4 separate regions of the Homo sapiens genome follow, and all the other regions are linked to region 4. Evidence: promoter capture Hi-C in 16 types of primary human blood cells and fetal thymus (Javierre and others, 2016). All regions are on one chromosome and are shown on one strand. Each heading gives the region's core, a stretch centred on a gene start or on the middle of the fragment in contact. The rest is flanking DNA. Distances are from core to core; before and after follow the strand shown.

Region 1 (2,752 bases), core at 176-2,675, 320 kb before region 4:
GACCATCCACCAGCTTTTTGCCAAGGGAGAGAACATGGTCAATCTAGCCACAGACAAAAGAGGGAGCTGGCTTTGCTGGAGCGATTTCTGAGAGATGAGGCCAAGGGAGATTCCCACTCCTAGGCTGGCCAGCAGGAAGAGTCATTCATCTCATTAGGAACTTGGCACGAAGGCAAGTGTCAACAGGAAGAGAGAAGGCTCTTGGTTATGGTTCTTGAAGGAGGCACTTCTGTCTCTCCTTGGCCAGGCTGGAGTTTAGGAATCATTGGTGGTCTTTGACATCTCAGATGTGAAAGAAAGACTAAGGAGACTGCAGTCAGGGGATGACAGAGCCGAGCAGAGGAATGGGGGCGTTGAGGGCTGAAAGGACATGGTACCTGCAGCCCAGGGCTGGCCTGGCAGTCCAGTTAGTACAGGTCGGGGCTCTGCTCAGGGGTCGTGGGGCCTTTCCCTCACTATTAGCCTTCAGCATTTTTTGCTTCTTTTGGACACATTCATTTCCTTTAAAGCGCTCCCGTGACCTGGTCCCATACTATCTCTCCGACTTCATCTCCTATTGTCACCTCCCTTCCTTTCCAGCCACTCTGCCTCCATGTTACTCTTCGAACTTCCAAGAATACCATGCTCTCCTGAGGACTTTTGCACCCAGACAGTTCTTCCTCAGATGGCCACGTGGTCCATCCTGTCACTTCCTGGGCCTGTGCTGAAAGACGCCTCCCTGTGAAGCCGTCCCAGATCACTCGTATGTGATTGTAATCCCCTTCTCCCAGTGCTAGCCGTTCTCCTTCCTCTGCTGTATTTTTCTCCATAACACACATCACAATCGGACACAACACATATTTGCTTGTTTGTTTTTTACCTGTTTCTGCCCTGGAGAAGGTAAGCTGTGACAATGCAGGCCTTTTTGTTCACTGCTATAACCCCGGTGCCTAGAAGAATGTGTTGCACATGGCAGGCCCTTGACACACATTTAAATAAATAAACAAAGCAATTAACCTTTCTGTGGGACCTTCCACTGATTGTCAGGATCTGAATTCTCACCTCTGCCCTTCCTAGATGTGTGAGTTTGGACAAGTCACGAACCCCTTTAGGCCTCTGTTTCCTTATCTGAAAAAGAGCATGTTGGACTAAATGGCATCTTAAAGTCCCTTATGGCTAAAATTTAGGGAGAATCCCTGAAGGAAGTGGGACCTTGAGGTAAGGGCCTGATGTCCATGATTCTCTCGCAGAATTAAAGCCCTGCATTCCATTAAAGCCCTGCATGCCACCTCTGCCCCCAGACCAGGCCTGGGCAGAAGCAGGGCCACCAGCCCTGCAGCTGGAAGCTAAGAGCTAGCCAGAAGGCTGAGGTCAAGGACTGATGACTAAGATGAAGGGAAAGAGATGGACGGGGCAGAACTGGGGCTGCTGCGTTTTATTTAAATCCATGATAAGGATCAGGAAGCAGGCAACAGCCCGATGACACATTAATTAACTTTGCAGATGATACTGGATCAGGAAGGTGTCCCATCCACCCATCTCAGCGAGAGAGATGGGACAAAAGGACCTGAGGAGGGGTCAGGAATTAGGCCAGGAAATTACAACAATGAACTTTGGCTGTGGCCAAGAGGGGAAAGGACTCATGTTCTCTCGAGTGGATTGGGGGTAGGGTGGAGAGGATCTATTTTCAGAACACAGATAAGCAGTGGATGGTAGGGGCTGGGAGTGGTGGCAGGGACCGCGAGGTCCCCTGGTTGTTTGAATTGATGTACTGATCCCCAGTGGAGACAGAGCCTGTTTTCTTGCCACTGTGTTTGGAGGAAGGGGACGGGGTAAGGGACAGGGAAGATAAATGACATTGATGGAGCACCCACCATGAACCAGGCACCATACACAGTATCTCATTTAAACTCCGCAACAGCAATGATAAGACAAGAGGAAATAATGGGTCACATAGACTAAGAAGTTTCTGAGAGTCACACTGCCAGAAAGTGGCAGAGTTGAGATTCAGATGTAGGAGGGAGGCGATGGTCCCAAAGTGGGTTAAGGGCCCCAGGAGAAAAACCAGAGTAGCTGCCAGGTTATCAAACTGCCTCTTCATTTTTAGGACTGAAACCTAAGTAAGTAACAAGTACCCAAAAGAAGACTTTCATTAGCACCCTGGGGTTCCACGGGTACTGGAAGTTTTCTTCTCTCCCTCCTGCTGGGACCAACCTGACCTTCCTAAGCAGTGCAGAGAAAGGAACGGGGAGGAATGGAAGACTGTCAGGCATCTGGACAATGTGGAGGGGTGACGCCAAGGAAAAAAAAGTGTGAGAGCTCTTGCAGCCTGTTGTGGAAAAGATACCAAAGGGCTCAAAGGCTCAGTTCTGTTCTGGCCACTAACCTCTCTGTCTTTGGTGAGAACAGGGTACTGATGGATTCTAGGTGAGTGAATGGTCACCTCTGGGGTGAGCCATTTCAGAGAATACAGGCCCATAGACAAGGATAGGTACCCCTGAAGAGGGCTTGGGGTGTGCCCGGACTCAAGGGTGACAGACATCTCTATTCCTCTAGGGAGCTGACAGCTGGAGGCATTCCTGAAACTCTAGCTAGGAACTCAGTGCGTGACCCAAAAGGGAATCCCAAACAACAAGTCTATGATTGAGCAGTCTGTTTCTGGTTGGGTCATGATGCCACAACAAACGGCCCAAGTAGAGAAGGCTGCAGGCCCTGGGCAGGCCTGGTGAGAAGGGCTGACCCAAAGGACAGCCATTGTGCTCCAAGCAGCATG
Region 2 (3,125 bases), core at 573-3,072, 360 kb before region 4:
TAGCTCAGGGAGAACCAAGCCCCAGACGACTACCCGTGGCCACCCCCTGCATTCATTCTCCAAGGCCCACGGTGGGAGGAAAGGGTTTTGCTGTTCCCTGCTCTTTTGGCAGTGCACAGGTCAGGCCCTGGCACAGAGTGGGAACTCAGTATGAAGTGAATGAACAGGCTGAGTTCCCACCCAAACTTATGCTCATGGTGAAGTGAAAAAGGAAACTGGCAGGCAGGGCTGGGGCACTGATCCCAGGGCTGAGGTGCATCTGATCGGAGTCTGAGAAGCCCAGAATCCTCAGCATTCTGGGAAGCCCCTCCTTCAAGGGATGCTCTGCGTGGAAAGTGGGCTCCCTGTAGGTATGTTCTAGCAGGATTAAGCAGGATTAACGAGGCTAAGGGCCCCGCCACCTGGCAGATGAAAATCCTTCTCCAGTGGAGAGGCTGCATGTGGCCAGACTCTCTTTGCCCTAACTTTGCAGAGCACCCACCTGGCTAGGAACCTTGGAGCGCATGTTCCTTGTGTGCAAGACTCACAGTAACCCTTGTTTCAGGGGGACACGAAGAGCAAAGCTTCGAAGAGCTCTTCCATCCTCCCAGGTTATGGAGGAAGGTGTGGCGGCTTCTTCCTACGCTACGATGCTCCCGCCACTTTATGGGACCTGGGGAGTGGGAGGGGACTGGGTGGAAGGTTAGGATCGGGATCGGGGGAGCTTTTGTTCCTCCATCTCAGTTCTAATGGTCAGCCCCAGCAGGAACAAGCCATTCTAGCCAAAGCCTTGACAATAATGGAATTTGTGTTAATAACCTGGGCACAGGAGAGCAGTGAGGGTAGGGACACAATGCTTTCTTTGTGCCTGACAGTTGGGTGCCTTGAGCCAAAAACCTCCTGAAACTCCCTGAAGATAACGTGAGCATTTCTTCCCATGACAGGGGCTCCATGACTTCCAATAACCCAGGCAGCCACAGCTGCTCCCCTCCCTGAAAGTGCCTGGGCAAGAACAACAGAGTGCGTCACTGCTGTTCAAGGGCAGCTGCCAGAGATGCTGAGACAACTGCACAGCCCAGGCCTGTTTTGGGGGCCGGGAGGGGGTGGTGGGTGGGGAATGAGACTGAAGAGGCAGGGTCTTACTACTTCTACTTCAGTGCCTCTGGGGAGTGGAGGGGTATAGGCCAGGGAAGCAAATAACTACTCCGAGCTGTAGCTCAGCTGTGATTCCTTGTGAGAGATCAAAGGCCCAGCCGACTTTTGTTGCGTTGGGAAATCTAGCTGCCTGGGACAGGCTGAGTCCCTGATGGTTCATAAAGAAGGTCAAATCAACCAGCTTCCTGTGATGTAGTTAACTGGGGACTTATTTTGTGCCAGACACTGTGTTAGGTGCCTTCAGTGTATTATCTTGTGTGAGCCTCAAAGTAACATCTGTGACACAGGTACTGTCATCATCCTGATTTTATAAACGAGAAAATGAAGGCTCCAGAGGTTAAGGAACTTGCCCAAGGTCAGAGACAGCATGTGGCAGGGCCAGGATGGGGACCCAGGCTGCCAGCCTCCCAAACCTAGTTTCTTAACCCCTACCTGACCCCCAGTCTATCAGAGAGCAGATGCCATAATCAGAGGACCACAATTCCATCTCCAGCGAGACAGATGCGAGGAAGGGAAGAGGGATGCCCTGTGTGCATCTGCCCGCACTGCGAGTCCTTGCCACTCCTTAGATCAACGGAGCCAGAGATCTTGCCACCAACACACTGGCAAAGCAGCTGGTTTGTCTACACTTTCTGTGGAGAACAAAGTTCATTTTGATAAAGGTTGGGGTGCTGGGAGGGTTTTTGTTTGTAGTGAGCATTCAGAATAAAAGAACCCTCTTGAAACCACTTCCCTTTCAGATCTGTCATGGATTAAACTCTGGAGACTCAAAGCCACACCTTCCCACTTCCTGCAGCCGGCTAGAGACCAACATATGCACACCCAGATTCTTTGGACTTCAGCTGAGAGCCTCCACAGATGGTCAGCCTCTGCATGAGAGGTCAGCGCTGAGTTGGTCAGCACCCTGCCTCTGCATGAAGCAGAGAGGCCCCACCCCCCAACTTTTTTTTTTAACAGACAGGGTCTCAGTCTATCACCTAGGGTGGAGTGCAGTGGTGCAATCAGAGCTCACTGTGGCCTCGAACTCGTGCGCTCAAGCAGTCCTCCTGCTTTAGCCTCCCAAGTAGCTGGGACTACAGGCGTGCATATTTTTTGGTAGAGTCGGGGTCTCTCTTTGTTGCCCAGGCTGGTCTCAAACTTCTTGCTTGAAATGATGCCCCCACGTTGGCCTTCCAAAGTGTTGGATTACAGGCGTAAGCCACTGGACCCTGTGAGGGTGCTTTTAACTTGGGCCTGTTTCCTCTCAAGTGACCTTACTCTGGATTTGCTAGAGATGGAGCCATTGGTCAGATGTGTGCCAAACTTCTCACCACACTGAAGCAATCTCTTTCCTGTACTTTTGAGAGCTCTGCCAAGGAGGGGAGAAGCTAGTAAGACAAGGAGAACCGTCAGGGGCTGGGATGACAGACGAGGGCCTCTGCCGCCAGCACAGCACCGGACTTCCTGTAGCTGTCACATCAGAGAGGCTCTACAGTTGTGGTCTCCCATGTTAAAACCAAGAGACCCACTCAGATTTGTGGGTCAGGAGGTTGAAAAGGCTATTTTGCACCGGGATTCCAAAACACTGGGAGGGCTTCACTGCCCAGGGAAGCATGAGGCAATGGAAAGAGTATCAGCCAGGGGCTCACGCCTGAGTTCTAACTCCAGCTTTGCCAGTGTGGGGTTTTTATAACTTGAGGAAGTCATTGCAACTTTCCACGGGCCTCATTTTCTTCATCAGGAAAAATCAGGAGGTTGGACTAGATGGTCTCTATGAGCTTCCAGCTCTAACTTCCTAAGAATCTATGATTCTCTTCCTTTCCCATTCTGGAGATAAAAACTTTCTAGGGATAAAAACTGTGGGCTTAAAGGGGGGTGGGATTCAATCTTCCTTTCCTGCTGAGTGACTCTGGGTCATGGCCAAGAATGCATTTGGAAGTTGACACAAACAGGCCGAGGCCACTGGGAAAAGCTTCCTGGAGTTTTCTGCAGCTGAGGTAACAGAAATAAAT
Region 3 (3,145 bases), core at 442-2,941, 430 kb after region 4:
CACCTGCCAAACAGTGTCAAGGGTGAAAGGCAAAGATCGAAGGCCAAAGTGCCCCTAGCGTCCCCTGCAGCAGGTCTCAGTCAACCTTAATAGATCTATTAATAGAAAGAGGCTGGACTGCGCAAGGGCAGGGGGACTAGCCTGGCTAAAAGCAAAATAAAACACATCAACAGACACACTCTTCTTTTGTTAGGAGGAGGTGGGATCACAGGCCCACATGCTCCCAGACGAGGTGGGGCCAGGAAGACTCTCACAGGATTGCCTTTCATGCTGCCACGGATGGATGCTCCAGGCAGATCCACTCTGCCAAGGCGTGCTTTGGGATTAGCCGGGCACTCCTTTGTCTTTTCATGACGTTTCCAAAAGAAGACACTGTGACTCTGACAGAGGTGACCTGCACCTCACGACCCCCTCTGTGCAAACCATTAGCATTTCCGGATCTCAAAAAAACCAAAAAAACCCACAGGGCACATGCCAATTCATAGGACAAATGGAAACAGACTGAAAACAAAAACACAGAACCATGGCTTTTCAGACCTGTCAACATGGTTAGTGTTGGAAATAGGCACTGACTTCTCTTCCACCAAGTGGAATAAAAATTTAGATGTCTTTTAACATCTTAGATATTTTAACGTATTTAAAGTCAGGCAAAAAGCCCTATAGTCATTGCACTGCCTCAAAAATTATTTACGACAGTTCTATCTTAATGCTGTGTCCTGTTTTCCTAGCGATCAATGGCTTGAGGACCTCCCTTGAGCTCACTTTGCTGGCTCTGTTCTCTCATTTTGTTTTTGCGCTTCCCTCTCCTCTCCGGCATGTCTCAGGCCTTTATTTTTGTTGGTCCTAACAGCTGGTCCCCTTCCCTTCCCATCTGTCTCTATCATCTATTTTCAGGTTATGGCTCAGGCCCACCTTCCTGCTCCAGGAGAACATCTATGTATTCTCCAACGGCTGAGAAACATGCTGAGCGTCTAATGTCATCCTCCATATTGGTAACACGTAACATTAATAATGACAGTCATAATTTTCTGGAAGTAAGCCAAAGGTTCTAAGCTTAGATCGAACTGCAAAACAGTGTAACATAAAGTCAGCATTTGCTGTTACTATTAAATACATAAAAATTGGTTAATTTTATTACTTTTCCTTGTCTATATACAAGTAGGTACTTAAAATGGTGACCTTATAAACAGTCATCTCAGAGTGGCAATTATTGTTGGTGAATGGCTTAACGTCGTGGGTTGGTCACTACTTGTGAAATATCTGCTTTCTGAGCTGCAGAGAGTGTGGACGCCCTCTCCACAACCCCACACAATTGTGCTTCACTGTATGCACACCCAACACAACACATGCAAAGAGTGTGCGTCAGACTCAGACAATGTATTTCACTGAATTTGGACTCAAGTTCAACTCATCATTCTAATGAGTAAGAAGATTCAAAGATGACAAGGAAGCAAGCCCACACAGTCTACGGGCCATGGGATGATGAACTTTCGTTTTATTGATTTTTCAGTACCCAAGTGTGGCACTGTAAGGCTGCCACATACAGCAAGTGACATGACACCAAAAGGACCTTCCGAGAGTATTATTCTTACTTTGGATGGAAGACATCGCTTAAACAAAAAACATTTAAAGATGCTCCCTTGCTTTTTATAATTCCTAACTGTAAAATATAATTTTAGTACAGAACAAACAAATTCTCCTTGGTTGGTCACATCATTCATTATTGAAAGGGAAACTTAGTATCAAAAGAAACAAAACACTGAAATAAATAACTAAGTAATTTACTGAAAGGTAGTTTTGTTGCATTGCACACAACTGACCGCAGAGAATTCTAAAGCTGATTTTTTTCTTAAAGGATGAAAAACTCATTTGCCATTTTTAGTTTCTTGCTAAGTGATACATGCTCCTTATAAGGAAAACTACTCTGTGTAGGCCTGAGTTTAAAATGTAAATATCTGTTTATCCAGAGTTTGTTAATCTAGAGTACACAGATGTGGAAAACTGGTGGTGAAAAGAGGGACCTACCCAGCCTTCAGGGTGGCTGGGCAGGGGCCCCATGTTACTGGCCTCAGCCACCAGCAGCGTCTTCACTCCGCCCAGGTCAGAAAGCACTGCCTAAAGCCGGAGCTTAGGATGAACATGGGCAAAAAGCACTGGTACAGTTCCATGTGTTTCTCTTCTACTGTAATGTCCCCAGAGGGATTGTGAAATGTCTGAGAACATCCCCTGGAGGAGGTTTAAAAGTGAGAAGCCCATGATATGGCTATGGAACATAAGCACTTATTGCTGGCATGTTTCTACCAAGATTGAACACAATGCTTTTCTTTGATAAAGCTTTGGGCAAGTTCCTAGTCCAATTTCTTCTGCTACAAGTACACAGAATTTACTGCCTTCTTGGTCAGCTCTTGGTATGAATTCTTCTCTTGAATTAAGATCCTCCCTGGCTTGTCTCTCACCCACCCTGTATCTCTTAGAGAAAGCACCTGGCTGTCTTCACCTACGCGAGACCTTCTCTGGAATGTGATTTGCTGCGACTGCAGACATCTCCATACGGCATAATGAACTCCCTTGAGTGGTCTCTTTTTAAACAATTTTGGGTGAGGGGCAGGTTTCTTGGTTTGTTTCAAAACTCATCTTGAAAATAATCTAGACGGAAAAATCCGAAGTGAAATTCTGGTGCAACAAATATTTTAAGATTGAAGTTTGGTTACTTCTCTTGTCCATCTTTTCGTGCCCACAAATGGAAACTACATTCCTGATTTAAGAGGATGCTTCTGTCTGTATCCTTTTTTGAACTGCATTGTTCTCACAAGGACCAGCAAACTTTTTCTGTAAATATTTTAGTAAATATTCTAGGCTTTACAGGCCACATATAGTGTCTGCTGCATATTCTTCAACGTTTTTTCTTAGGCAACTGTTTAAAAATGGCAAATCCACTACTACCTCTCAGCTGGAGCAATGAGGTTTTCTCAGCCCTTGTTTCAGGATCCTCAGGTATGTGACTAACTCTTCTATGCCCAGAGCTGGAAGGCGGGGTCCCCTAACTCCCTGGGTGCCCACCTGCCCACTTCAACCATTTGTGGCCCCTTCCTTTCCTTTCTTCCCTCTCTGCTGCTGACACCAGTGGCTCCATCGCCAGCTCCCT
Region 4 (3,123 bases), core at 1-2,500:
TTTGCATTTTCAGAGCACAAGATGGAGGAGTGGTGGAGGCGGTTCAGGTGGGTGGCAGGCTGGTCTGGGCTTTAAAAATTGTCCAGAGGTAACTGAGGAGATGAATCAAACCAGACTGAGCTGACTACTTAACACTAGCAGTCAAGATCATCCTGGCTGGGCATGGTGGCTCACGCCTGTAATCCTAGTACTTTGGGAGGCCAAGGCAGGCAGATCACCCGAGGTCAGGAGTTCGAGACCAGCCTGGCCAAGGTGGTGAAACCCCGTCTCTACCAAAAATACATAAATTAGCTGGGAATAGTGGCGTGCACTTGTAGTCCCAGCTACTCGGGAGGCTGAGGCAGAACTGCTTGAACCCAAGAGGCGGAGGTTGCAGTGAACCAAGATTGCACCACTGCACTCCAGCCTGGGCAACAGAGGGAGACTCAAAAAAAAAAAAAAAAAAAAAAGATTATCCTGATAAAACCAGCCTTGAATATGGAAAGTGTCTTCTAGGGACCCCTCAGGTTATAGATGTTATACCTTAGAATCTCTCTATTTTACAGAGGGGTAAATTGAGGCAGAAAACCCAAAGAAGGCTTAGGGACGATTTTCGAGGCTACTCACTTCATGGTGTTTCTTTCAGAGATTAGCAGCTATTACTGAACTCCAGGAGGCAACAGGAGGGGGATGGGATGGAGGTGGGGACCCGCTGAAGAAGGCCTAGGTGGGAGACAGGTAACGTGGTACAGGTACCCACCCCACAACTCATTAAGGGCCATGGAGGGAGGAAGGCTCTCAAGTGCCACGAAAATTCCCAAAGCAGCAGAGGGCTTGTATGGAAACGCCGGTTATTCGTCCCTACCCGGCCCCCGCCCCCCGCCCCCCCGACTGCCCCTGCCGTCGCCTCCCCGTGGGCAAGTGGTGGGGGCCTGGGCTTACAACCACACGTTCTCCTCCAACTAGCATCCCTTCCAGGGTGCACTAGGATGCCTCTCAGAGGTTCTCCCCCGCCTCCCGAAGGAAAGGGGAAAACCCCGTGGGCGTCCGGAGAGCCTTTGCGCCTCGCCAGGTGGAGGGACCGGCGCCACCCAGACCCGCGAGCCGAGACCCTCCCCGCGGCGTCGCTGCGGGAGGGGCGGAAGAGCGCGGGCGGTGGGCGGGAGCGGTGCTGCGAGGCGGGATCTGCGGGGCGTCCAATCCCCTTCTTCCCCCGCCCGCCCCCTCCCCGCCCCCCGAACGCTTTCCACCAACTGCGCGCGGCAGTGGGCGGGGCCCGTCACGGCTGTCGTCTTGGGTGCGATTTTTTTCTCCTCCTTTTTTTACCCTCCCGTTTTTTTCTTTTCTTTTTTTTTTCCCTATCCTTTTTTTGTGAATGAAAAAAGGAGGTCGCGAGCGGTACCTGGGACTGCAGCGCCAGGCGTCTTCGCGGCAGCGCCTTCGCCGCGGGCCCGGGCGCGTAGCGGCGGCGGCCTCGCCCCTCTCCCGGCGCCCCTGCGCGCCGCCCGCTGCCTCCGCAGCCCGGCTCCGCGCGCCGCCGTGACATTGGGCGCCTGGCGCGCGGGGCGATGCTGATCCGGAAGGGGCAGCGGCTGCAGTGCAGCGCGCGCGTCCGCTCCTGGGCCCACGTCCGGCCTGGGCTGCCCTGCCGGAGTTTCTGAGTGGCCGCGAGCTGGCCGGGAGGCTGGAGCCCAGCAGCAGCGCGGCGGCGCCGGCGTCGTCCCAACTTGCAGGCGCGGAGGGACCCCTGACATTTCACTAAAATGAGCGTGCTCAGCAGGAAGAGATGTGTTCCTCACGCTAGAAGCCACCCCGTCACATGTAGTGGTGTAAGTAGATGGCTGCTTGCGGTTATGGCGGGGTGGCCAGCAGCCCTTGCAGACGCGCCGCTCCGCCCTCCCTGCCCTGCCGCGCCCCTCGCTACGTTCCCCGGGCCCCGCTAGTCCCTGGGCTCTGGCTTCGGCTGCTGGGTACAGCGGGGCTGGAGCCTAATCCTTTCCGGTGTTTCTAGGGAAAGGAAGATGACTTGATTGCTTCGGCCTGTCGTGCCCCTCCCCCTTCTCGATGTTTAAAAATTTTTAAATTTCTATTTTGTGTGTGTGCAGAGTAGCGTGTCAGAAAAAAGGAAAAACGGTCCAGAGTGGTGGGAGTGATTCTGTTAAGAAAACAAACACAAAACAACAGTGGAATTGGGGTGTTTTGCTGGCGGTTCCGGAGCTGGTTCTTTGAACTCAACTCCATTGCAGTCTATGTAACTGAGTTCTGTGAAACTACTGGGGAGATCTTTGGCGGTGTTTGGTGATGTGTCCACATTTTAGGTTTGAGGGGGCTTATCTGTGTTTAGGCTTGCATTTCTTTAATCTGACCATTCAGGGTCCCTTTGGGCCTTGCTTTCTGTTGGATCTGCACGGGGCTTCTTGCAATGCCAGCGACCCCCGTGGGAGCCTCCCCGAATTAGGAGTCCACTCTCTCTTTGTTCTTCTCCTTCCAATTCTCCATTCAATCCATCTCCCTTGATTTTACCTTCATTTTCAGGATTTTCCTCCCATTCCCATTTTGTAAGATGATGTGGGATACTGGTTGCTAGGAGACAAGCCAGGCTCCCAGGGAGATTCTGTTGTTTCCTTGACAACCAGACTAGGGCAGCCACAGATGAACAAGCCTCCTATCAGCTGTGGGAGGGAAAGGGGCCCTTTCTGAGCTCTGCAAAGAGTGTGTGTAGGGGTGTGGGGGTGGGACTGGGAGAGCACGAGGTTTGTAGCTAATTTCAGCACACCTTGGGTTTTGGCTTGCACCAAGTACAAAGAGCTGGGAGAGCGGTGGGCAGGAGGCTGTTTTTGGAGGGGCACAGGGATCATGGGACAGGGATGGAAGGAACACATGCCAGTGACTTTGCGATTGTCATGGAAGAGGAGTGAGTTGGGGGTTGTGATGCCCAGGGCTGGGTGGTGAGGAGGTCATAGTTTATGGAGGTTGATTGAGTGGGGATGAGGCAATTGTGAGGGAGAGTCTGGAGTCAGGGAAGAAGAGAGAGCCGGAGGGAGAGGGGAAGCTGAGAGGCTCACTGAATGGGCTGTATCACCATATATCAGCAATGAGTGGGCTGTATCACCATACATCAGCAATGATACAACATCAGCAACA

Evidence for each region. Contacts are between HindIII fragments. The CHiCAGO score rates a contact against its expected background, and 5 or more counts as called.
Region 1: a fragment that was not itself captured here is called in contact with the fragment with the promoter of RHOBTB2 in region 4 in 2 of 17 cell types (fetal thymus and naive CD8 T cells); the score reaches 6.8 in fetal thymus.
Region 2: a fragment that was not itself captured here is called in contact with the fragment with the promoter of RHOBTB2 in region 4 in 1 of 17 cell types (fetal thymus); the score reaches 5.9 in fetal thymus.
Region 3: a fragment that was not itself captured here is called in contact with the fragment with the promoter of RHOBTB2 in region 4 in 1 of 17 cell types (non-activated CD4 T cells); the score reaches 5.0 in non-activated CD4 T cells.

The regions. Positions count from the first base shown.
Region 1 is chr8:22,681,190-22,683,941 of GRCh38, forward strand. LOC107986924 (a long non-coding RNA gene) reads left to right here. Exons shown (of 2, transcript XR_001745827.2): 1 at 1-2,752. Among named protein-coding and RNA genes, the nearest start is that of EGR3, 11 kb to the right of the region's middle. The HindIII fragment of the contact is 3,949 bases long and covers 1-2,752 here.
Region 2 is chr8:22,641,261-22,644,385 of GRCh38, forward strand. The region is part of intron 2 of BIN3 (bridging integrator 3); the gene reads right to left. It overlaps BIN3-IT1 (BIN3 intronic transcript 1), which reads right to left and starts at 949. Exons shown (of 1, transcript NR_027715.1): 1 at 1-949. The HindIII fragment of the contact is 2,522 bases long and covers 562-3,083 here.
Region 3 is chr8:23,427,687-23,430,831 of GRCh38, forward strand. It overlaps ENTPD4 (ectonucleoside triphosphate diphosphohydrolase 4), which reads right to left. Exons shown (of 13, transcript NM_004901.5): 13 at 1,476-3,145. Among named protein-coding and RNA genes, the nearest start is that of LOXL2, 25 kb to the left of the region's middle. The HindIII fragment of the contact is 1,281 bases long and covers 1,052-2,332 here.
Region 4 is chr8:22,998,298-23,001,420 of GRCh38, forward strand. It overlaps RHOBTB2 (Rho related BTB domain containing 2), which reads left to right and starts at 1,251. Exons shown (of 10, transcript NM_015178.3): 1 at 1,251-1,808. RHOBTB2-AS1 (RHOBTB2 antisense RNA 1) reads right to left here and starts at 1,508. Exons shown (of 2, transcript XR_007060857.1): 1 at 1,382-1,508. RefSeq lists silencers at 931-1,190, 1,411-1,580, 1,911-1,960. The HindIII fragment of the contact is 10,673 bases long and covers 1-3,123 here.